2 separate regions of the Homo sapiens genome follow, and region 1 is linked to region 2. Evidence: promoter capture Hi-C in human tissues and cell types (Jung and others, 2019). All regions are on one chromosome and are shown on one strand. The core of a region is centred on a gene start or on the middle of the fragment in contact, and the rest is flanking DNA. Distances in the headings are between cores, read along the strand shown. Region 1 overlaps KMT5B (lysine methyltransferase 5B). Region 2 holds the start of C11orf24 (chromosome 11 open reading frame 24).

What was found. Contacts are between HindIII fragments. The study calls those that stand out against the background at their distance.
Region 1: a contact is called between a fragment that was not itself captured here and the fragment with the promoter of C11orf24 in region 2, in 1 of the 25 tissues and cell types used here (bladder).

What each region holds. Positions count from the first base shown.
Region 1 is chr11:68,205,873-68,210,898 of GRCh38, forward strand. All of the region lies in intron 1 of KMT5B (lysine methyltransferase 5B), which reads right to left. Among named protein-coding and RNA genes, the nearest start is that of KMT5B, 4.9 kb to the right of the region's middle. RefSeq lists a silencer at 436-525. The HindIII fragment of the contact is 5,675 bases long and covers 1-5,012 here.
Region 2 is chr11:68,269,575-68,274,047 of GRCh38, forward strand. C11orf24 (chromosome 11 open reading frame 24) reads right to left here and starts at 2,399. Exons shown (of 4, transcript NM_022338.4): 1 at 2,283-2,399. It overlaps LOC105369363 (a long non-coding RNA gene), which reads left to right and starts at 2,528. Exons shown (of 3, transcript XR_950248.3): 1 at 2,528-2,602. RefSeq lists a silencer at 2,197-2,596 and an enhancer at 2,508-3,362. The HindIII fragment of the contact is 13,528 bases long and covers 1-4,473 here.

The DNA of each region.
Region 1 (5,026 bases), core at 925-3,424, 64 kb before region 2:
GCCTCCCAAAGTGCTGGGATTACAGGCGTGAGCCACCGCGCCCGGCCAGACGTTCGCAATTCTTAGACTTACTTATTTGGCTACTGATCTACAGCCAGACATGTAAGAAACTCCTAATTGCCTTATCACAGAAAATACTGCTTCATTCTTAAATATCACATTCAATACGTATTTACGACGAGGGATGTCATGTAAGAAAGACTTCATGTCTTCATCTCAGTAGTTATTTTAAAACAAAGGTTTTCACTGATGGGGTTGTTGAGGGAAAGTCCTCAAAAAAACTTCCAGAAGAAAACAAAAAATGCCTGCTTCCCCCATCTCTCCACATTTGATCCATCTGCTTACCTAGCAGTGCCTAGAAATAAAATCAAGGATGCTTTCTTTGTTACTGTTTTCTCTAGGACTCAAACAGCCATTCACGGTTCTAGAAACAGATGCCACCTAGTGTCAAATGACTGTAAGTACAGCCTTTACAGCCCACAGTTTCTGTCAGAAGTTACAAGAAGTACATCAAAGATTTTTACTGGGCAAGGACAAGTGTGAGGAAAAGCTTCCAAAAGGTGGTTCTTGGGCTGGACGTTAGAGGCCACTTTGAGTTTGCCAGCTGGTGGGCTTTGCAGAGGCAGCCCGCACAGGGATTAAGGATGTGGCTCTGCAGTCAAAGCACCTGTCCCACCCTAGCTTCATCCTTACCCCAGCAGTGTGAGCAGACGAGTTATTTAACTTCACCGATGCCCCACCAGTACAATGAAAAGAAGGCCTCCCTAGGTTTGGCACAAGATATTTTAAATGAGCACAAACTGCTAACAAATTAAGGTCTCCCCTTCCAAGTAACTAAGGCAAAAGTAAAGCAGGCCAGAAACATTCTTCACAAAACTTTAATCAAGTAGAAATTTCCCTTCTATTCCCCACCATAACTCACACATGAAAAAAAAAATCTCATCACCTCACCCATTTAAAAAAGAACAAATGTGCAAAAGAATAATTATGACACAAGGCTGAGCACCAGTTCTGCTTTCCCTACAGTTCCCAAAGAGAAGGAATGTAACTTCTGGCTGCAACACGCATGATTAAAAATCATGCCAAGCAGCAGGGCACAGTGGCTCACGTCTGTAATCCCAGCACTTTGGGAGGCTGAGGCGGGCGGATCACGAGGTCAGGAGATCGAGACCATCCTGGCTAACACGGTGAAACCCCGTCTCCACTAAAAATACAAAAAATTAGCCGGGCATGGTGGCGGCTGAGGCAGGAGAATGGTGTGAACCTGGGAGGCGGAGCTTGCAGTGAGCCAAGATTGCGCCACTGCACTCCAGCCTCGGCGACAGAGCGAGACTCCGTTTCAAAAAAAAAAAAAAAATCATGCCAAGCTACATCTCCCATCCTAAACATTCAGAGGGACCACAGACTGGACTACAGAGCTTCTTACAACACAGTTTAGTTTGTGGTGTACCTGGTCAAACAGATTATTTTCACACCCTATAAAAGAAGATACAAACATCACTGCCCTTTAACACACACTCAATACTATCATCCCCATTTTACAAATGAGAACAAAACTCAGAGAATTAGAAAAAAAACTGAAGTGAAGTCCAGGCTGAGAGACTGTGTACTGTTAATATCACACAAAAAAGCAACACAGGCCAGGCACGGTGGCTCACGCCTGTAATCCCAGCACTTTGGGAGGCCGAGGTGGGCGGATCACGAGGTCAAGAATTCGAGACCAGCCTGGCGAACATAGTGAAAATCCATTTCTACTAAAAATACAAAAATTAGCCAGGCATGGTGGCACCTGCCCGTAGTCCCAGCTACTCGGGAGGCTGAGGCAGGAGAATCGCTTGAACCCAGGAGGCAGAGGTTGTGGTGAACCAAGATCGTGCCACTGCACTCCAGCTTGGGCAACAGAGTGAGACTCCATCTCAAAAAAAAAAAAAAAACAAACCAAAAAACAACACAGAATAATGACCCAAACAAATTTTTTATTTTTTTAGACGCTGTCTCGCTCTATTGCCCAGGCTGGAGTGCAGTGGCACGATCTCTGCTCACTGCAACCTCTGCCTCCCAGGTTCAAGGAATTCTCTGTCTCAGCCTCCCGAGTAGCAGGAATTACAGGTGCCCACCACCACGCCCAGCTAATTTTTGTATTTTCAGTAGAGACAGCGTTTCACCATGTTGGCCAGGATGGTCTTGAACTCCTGACCACGTGATTCACCTGTCTCGGCCTCCCAAAGTGCTGAGGTTACAGGCGTGAGCCATCACGCCTGGCCCCAAACAAATTTTTAAACACACTTCGCCCAAGCCAGGCACGGTGGCTCACGCCTGTAATCCCAGCACTTTAGGAGGCCGAGGCGGGAGGGTCACGAGGTCAGGAGTTCAAGACCAGCCTGGCCAACATGGTGAAACCCCGTCTCTACTAAAAATACAAAAGTTAGCTAGGCGTGGTGGCATGTGGCTGTAATCCCAGCTACTCGGGAGGCTGAGGCAGGAGAATTGCATGAACCGGGACCTGGGAGGTGGAGGTTGCAATGAGCCAAGATCGCGCCACTGCACTCCAGCCTGGGCAACAGAGTGAGACTCTGTCTCCAAACAAACAAACAAAAAAACCACTGTGCCCCATATTTGAAGAGTAAAACTCTAGAGCAAAATAGACATCGTTCCTGACTGCATAGAGGTCAGAGCATACTATGGGAAGAGATGTAAGTAAGTATGTGGTTATCAATCTGATGCGAGCTGTAAGAAAAACAAACAGGATGTTAGGAGAGAGACTAATGTAAGAATGGACTTGAGATGGGATGATCAGGGAAATATAAATCAAAATTGTAAATATAAAAACAAGACCAGACATGGCAGCTCATCCTATAATCCCAGCACTTTGGGAGGCCAAGGCGAGATGATTGCTTGGGCCCAGGAGACTAAGGCTGCAGTGAACTGGGATTATGCCACTGCTCTCCAGCCTGGGAGGCTACAAGACCCTGTCTCAAAAACAAACAAACAAAAAATACCTTTTTTGGGTCAAAAGCCCTCCTGGTACTTATTTATATGCACCAAACAAATATTTGCTTTAAACCCTCCAGGACCCTGAATGACGTCTGGTTTTGTTTCCTTTCCAAGGGGGAAAGTGAAGGGGGGTTTCCTATGGTGCCACTGGCTCACTGGCTGAAGGATCAAGCCCCCTTTTACTTCTCAGTGAGGAAAGCTGCAGCTTCCTAAAATCAGATTGGTTTTCTTACTAAAAATATCTATTTCTCCATATGATGCAACATAAACATTGCCTCGAAAATAAAAATACTCCTCAGAGACCATTAAAATGTATCATACATTTCAACCGTGTTATACAAATCAGACAGGCAAAACAATTCATCGGGCCGACCTAGAATCCACTCAGTTCAACAAACTTATGAAGAACCTCCCAGAGCTGCCAGGCACTGTTCGTGGTGCTGGAATACTGGTCATGTCCAGGGAACACTAGAGGGCGTATGAGAGCTTCTACTTTCAGGAAAATCAGTCGTTGAGTCAGGGAAGAAAACCAAACAGATGCATAAGGGGAAAAAAAGTTAACAGGGTAGAAAAGTACAGACTAGGAAGCAGAATGACCCTTCACTGAATGGGCCTTTTGCGTAAGGCCTGAGAAGCAAGCCGAGTGCCATTAGAGATGTGCTGACCAGGCATTCCTATAAAGGTGGCACAAGGTAGAAACACAGGTGTCACAACACACACATTCGGTTTCTACTGGTTCCCCTAACATGCAGGACTCGGGATTCGCTAGCTCAGCAACCCTATCAGGTGAAACAGGTATTAGCACTACAACAAGGAGGCTAAAGCTCAGAAACAAATTGCTTTCCTAAACTCAAAGTGCTACTAAGTGGTAAGGGTGGGTCTAAAACCTTCATCTTTAAACTGCAGTCTGGGGTTTACTCCAGTGCTTGAGCCACGTGTACCACCTAGAGGTTTATCACCAGCAAATGATCCCCGGATCTAGGTACTGTTTTCTTTCCCCCTTTTTTTTTTTTTTTAAGAGACGGAGTCTTGCTCTGTCGCCCAGGCTGGAGTGCAGTGGAGCCATCTCTGCTCACTGCAACCTCCAACTCCCGGGTTCACACCATTCTCCTGCCTCAACCTCCGGAGTAGCTGGGACTACAGGCTAATTTTTGTATTTTTAGTAGAGACGGGGTTTCACCGTGTTAGCCAAGATGATCTCAATTCCTGACCTCGTGATCCACCCGCCTCGGCCTCCCAAAGTGCTGGGATTACAGGCGTGAGCCACCGTACCCGGCCGGTACTGTTTTCTTTAGTGTGCTATTACAACAGACAAACTAAGACAGCTTATAGAAATGCAACTGGCATTGTAGGAGTCATACAGGCCCCCAATCAAGCTTTGGGGGGGGGGACACTGATACCCTAGTCTCTCAATTCTAAAACCCAACTGATTAACTATCTCATAATGACATTTCAAAAAAAGGAGGTAAAACTACATGAAACATGCAGATGAACTAAGGTGATTAGAGAGATGTCAAAATATGATTAAAATAATTATTAGGAGAAAATAGGATGGCAGTGAAGTGTAAAAGATGAAGCATTAATACAATTTTGGATTGGAAGTGACCTCAGAGTCGTTTTGTAGACGGAGTCTAGGCCCTATCAATGACTTATACAAACAGTGATAGAGCAGAGAATGGAATAAGAATTGATTCTTATTCCATGGTCCTTCAACTATTCCTAAAATTACACTTCTATACAGCAGTCATCATTTGACATACGGCCCTAGAAGATGGCCTGGTGTTCAAGTCTGTCTCATTCGGAGACCGGCTAGCCCCAAATCAACCCCATCCAGACACATAATGGATCACCCCCTGCATTTACTTAACATGCAGTATTGTAGCTAACAGGGTGATGGAGCGGAGGGAGGACACATGGTCCCTATCGTCAAAAGTGTGAGGAAGATTCTTAACCATCAGAGCGTTCTAAGGCTGACATAGTCGGGGAACTCCTGACCACGGAGAAGGATTTTGCCAATGGAGAGATTTGCCAA
Region 2 (4,473 bases), core at 1,149-3,648:
CACAGCTGCACATATGTCCATCTGCACATGCACACATGCCACCACACATGTGCACTCACACAGGCACACACATACACATGCAAAATCACACACACAAAGGTGAGGGCACACACACGGAGCAGGTCCACAAGGCTATATCAGGACACTCCACGGGTTTCTCAGGAAACTTCTGCTGGATACCATCACCACTTACTCCCTCCCAGCCGGTGGGGCTGGTGGTCACTCCCACAGAAACAGGAATTGGCCACTGTGTAGTCGAGAACAGGCCTTCATTGTCCTATGACTTCATCCCTCTGCTATGGTCCTGCCTCCACTTTCCAACAGAATATTCTAAATGTCAAGATCCCATGCGGGAACCTGTGGTCATCTATGTAAGTTGACTCATGATGGACAAACCATTAACAACATTTAAAATAACAGTTTCCCCTGCAAAGGCTTCAAGCCAAAATTAGGATGTGGGTCTCGGGACCCCACCAGTTATTCTCATTATTATGTGGTACAGGGAGACTGGGTAGATCAGGGTCTCAGACCATAATAGATGGGAAAAAAGAGACCCCAGGGGCAGGAGGGGAATGAGCGAGAGAGAATTAAGTTTGTATTAAGTTGGAGACCAGGGCAGATGGAAAGACGGAAGGTTAGGCTGGCACTGGGAGCTCCCTTCTTCAGGGGTCAGCTCCCCATAGGATCTGCAAGGAAGGTGCAACAGGATACTCCCTTGAGCCATGTGACACTCCATGACAAAGGCACCCCCAACTATGCCCCTGGGTGTCAACCTCCCTATCCTTTTCTGGTTCATGACCTCGAGATGCCTCCCAAGGCATCTTGTCTGAATTCTTGTGTTCCGAACCTTGGCTTGTTATATGTGGCGCACTTTATGCAAGTTACACAAAACTGGACTCCAGGCGTGGTGCTGCATGCCTGTAATCCCAGACACTCAGGAGGCTGAGGTGGGAGGATTACAAGCCCAGAAGTTTGAGTTCAGCCTGGGCAACATAGTGAGACCCCATCTCTTAAAAAAAAAAAAAAAGGGAAAGAAATAACTTAATTCTTTTTTTCTGGCATAGAGAGGTTCCAAAGACCAATCCTGAAGCTTGGTAAAGGACTACAGCTGTTACCCCCACATTCTATCAGGCTATTAAGACTCACTCAGCCGCAACATGGCCAGGCCCCCACACCAAGTTAGGCAAGCTACAGATACCAAGGAGTAGGAACTGCAAACACAAATACAGGGCAAACTGCAGGTACCTAATCCTGACACGTCACCTGGCTGAACTTTGGTAGCAGAAGCCCAAGGAACACAGACTTATGGCTTTGTGTATATAGACATTGTCCTGTAGTCCAAAGGATGTGACTCTGTGGCAGACGGGAACCTAGAACATTGGACATTTATTATATTACATTAACTACCTTGCTTGCTTCCAGGTTTCTGGAAGTTTTGGTAACACAGCTAAATACTAGGGCCTAGTTTTTGCTAAGAACGTGGGTAGCTCTGACATTCCTTTGTCCATTAGGCAGATCCACTGTATAAATGGAAACATCTGTATTTTAAAGATTTTCCTAGCTGATTTTATCGAAATGTTAGAGATTTTCCTGGGGCGAGGGATAGCTGCAAGTTATTACAGTCAGATTTCTAAGCACGATGATTATTTCTGGTGGCAAACCATGCGTGTGGAGGCCGATTCCTCCTATCAGCCTAACGATTAAGTCAACATGCTAAGCAGCCACACGGGGGCTACTAAGTGACTCGCACGGGGGAAGCAGGCAGGGAGACAGATGGGCAGGGGAGGGAATCTGGGGCAATGCACAACCTCCACCCAGGTAGAGAGAGGGTCTGGGGGATAGGTCTGTGTCACTCAAGTAAGAGCGACACTTCTTGGGGTCCAGTCCCGTCCTGGGCTTGCCCGGGAAAGACCCCAGGACAAATTCGGCCCCCTTCCAGAGTGTCCCCATTCTGCTCCCACAATGGGACAAGCCGGCCTCTTCTCCAGTCTGGGCCCCCTTCGGCCCTCCTCCCTCCTCCTGTCTCTTGGGCCCCCAGCCATGCTCGGCCCCCAGTTGACTTCTTCAGTACCTGCATTGCTCAGCGTCTTGCACTCTGTGCGTGCCCCATCCGCCGCTCCTCCTGTCCCGTTCCTCCTGCCTCTCTCAGCCCCACTCACTCTCCCACTGCCCCTCGTGCCCCCATCCAACCCTCCTCCTGCCCCCCAACCTCTGTCTCTCAGTCCCAAGCCAGTCAGGGAGCCCTGACAGCAGCTACCCGGACGGCAGTGCGAGCCCCTTACCCGGGCGCAGCAGGCCCCCGGCGGCCTGGTGGCCCTCGGACAGTAGGAAGGAGCCTGAGGCCCGGCGCGGGGACGTGGCCGGCAGCGCAACCCAGGCAGCTCCGGGCAGCGCGCCCTGCCCGGGCCCCGCCCAAACGCCGGAAATGACGTCACGGAGGGCGGGGCGGGCCTGCTGGCCGGGGCGAAGAGCGGCTGCGGCGGGGCCTGTGGCGAACGGAGGCGAGCCGGAAGTGGGGGGGTTGTCTGCTCTCAGGCCCCGCCTCCCCGGGGCCGGCTCGGGCCACTTCTTGCGCGCTGCCAGAAGGAGCTATTTTGAGCAGGTCTGTGGCGGAAGTGGGTGTTCCCGGGTCTCTGCTGCCCAGCTGTGCCCGCTGCCGTCTTGGGGTCCCGGGGTGCGCGGGTTGGGCTGGGTGAGCTCAGAGGCACCTTGTCGGCAGCCGAGCCTGAAGAGGCGACCTCGAAACGCCTCGTGAGACCTTTCGCGGGCACACGCCCTTCGCGTTCCTCCGCTTCCTCCCACGTTTCTTCAGCCCCTGGCGGGGCGCTGGGGTGCCCGGTAGTTAAGGGTGGGGTGGCAGCGAGCGTTTCTGTGCACCCGCAGCGTGCCACGCCCGTGCTAAGCACTTTGCCTATAGAGCCAGTGGCTTAATTCTGCAATAGCACAGTGAAGAACTTCGCCTCATTTTACAGACGTGGAAACAGGCTCATCAAGTGCTCTGTAATTGTAAAACCTGGGATAACAAAGGAGCAAAACGCAATTTAGAGGCAAGTGTGTGGGACTTGACTTTGGTTAGAAATAGGCTTTGCAGGCCAGGCGCGGTGGCTCTTGCCTGTAATCCTAGCACTTTGGGAGGCCGAGACGGGCGGATTATCTGAGCTCAGGAGTTCGAGACCAGCCTGGGCAACATGGTGAAACCCTGTGTCTACTAAAATACAAAAAATTAGCCGGGCGTGGTGGCGTGCGCCTGTAGTCCCAGCTACTCGGGAGGCTGAGGCAGGAGAATTGCTTGAACCTGGGAGGTGGAGGTTGAAGTGAGCAGAGATCGTGCCACTGCACTCCAGCCTGGGCGACAGAGCGAGACTCTGTCTCCAAAAAAAAAAAAGAAAGAAAGAAATAGGCTTTGCAAGTTAGTAGTTCTGTGACTGAATCCCAGTCTGTATAAGACCCTCAGGCATCCCCCGGTCCAAACCAAAACCTGTCTGCGAAGGATGATTTCACAGGAGCAAACCAAGACTTTATTTCCAGTTTTATAACCTGCCTTGGGGTCTTCGGCTAGGAAGCTAAGAGACACAGAAAGCTGAGATTGGGCAAAGACAGGATCTACCATCCACTCCGAGCTCTGGGAGCACCTGAAATGCGATTTGATGTCACCACCACCATCCCCAGTTCAACCACAGTTCATGTGTGGAATTTAACCTGCAAAGTTGGGTTTGCTGAGACCCAACGCCGGTTGGATCATGTGAAGATCAGATCCTTTCACTATGTATTTGCTTTAATTTTTCCAACTAGTTCGGATCTAACATGAAGTACAGTATTGAGGCTCACTCCAGAAGTGAAAATATACAATCGGCAGGCAGATTTTAGTTCTTTGCCTGCCCTTTTCAAAAATCAATGACTGGGCTGGGCGCGGTGGCTCACGCCTGTAATCCCAACATTTTGGGAGGCCAAGGCGGGCGGATCACCTGAGGTCAGGAGTTTGAGACCAGCCTGACCGATATGGTGAAACCCGTCTCTACTAAAAATATAAAAATTAGCCAGGCGTGGTGGCGTGTGCCTGTATTCCCAGCTACTCGGGAGTCTGAGACAGGAAAATTGCTTGAACTTGGGAGGGGGAGGCTTCAGTGAGCCGAGATCTCACCACTGCACTCCAGCCTGGGCGACAGAGCGAGACTCCTTCTAAAAAAAAAAAAAAAAAAAAAAAAAAAAATCAATGACTGTGACTCTGTTTTCATTTCCTCTTTGGCAACATAGGGACAATTTTTACTGCTGGGGCTGAAATTACAAACATAAGACACAGCCTCTCCTCTAGAGCAGCTGGGCAGCTAGACCTCCATCTGCTTGCTTTTTTTTTTTTTTTTTAGACACGGAGTCTTGCTCTGTCGCCCAGGCTGGAGTGCAGTGGCGCCATCTCGGCTCACTGTAAGCCCCGCCTCACGGGTTCACGCCGTTCTTCTGCCTCAGCCTCCCGAG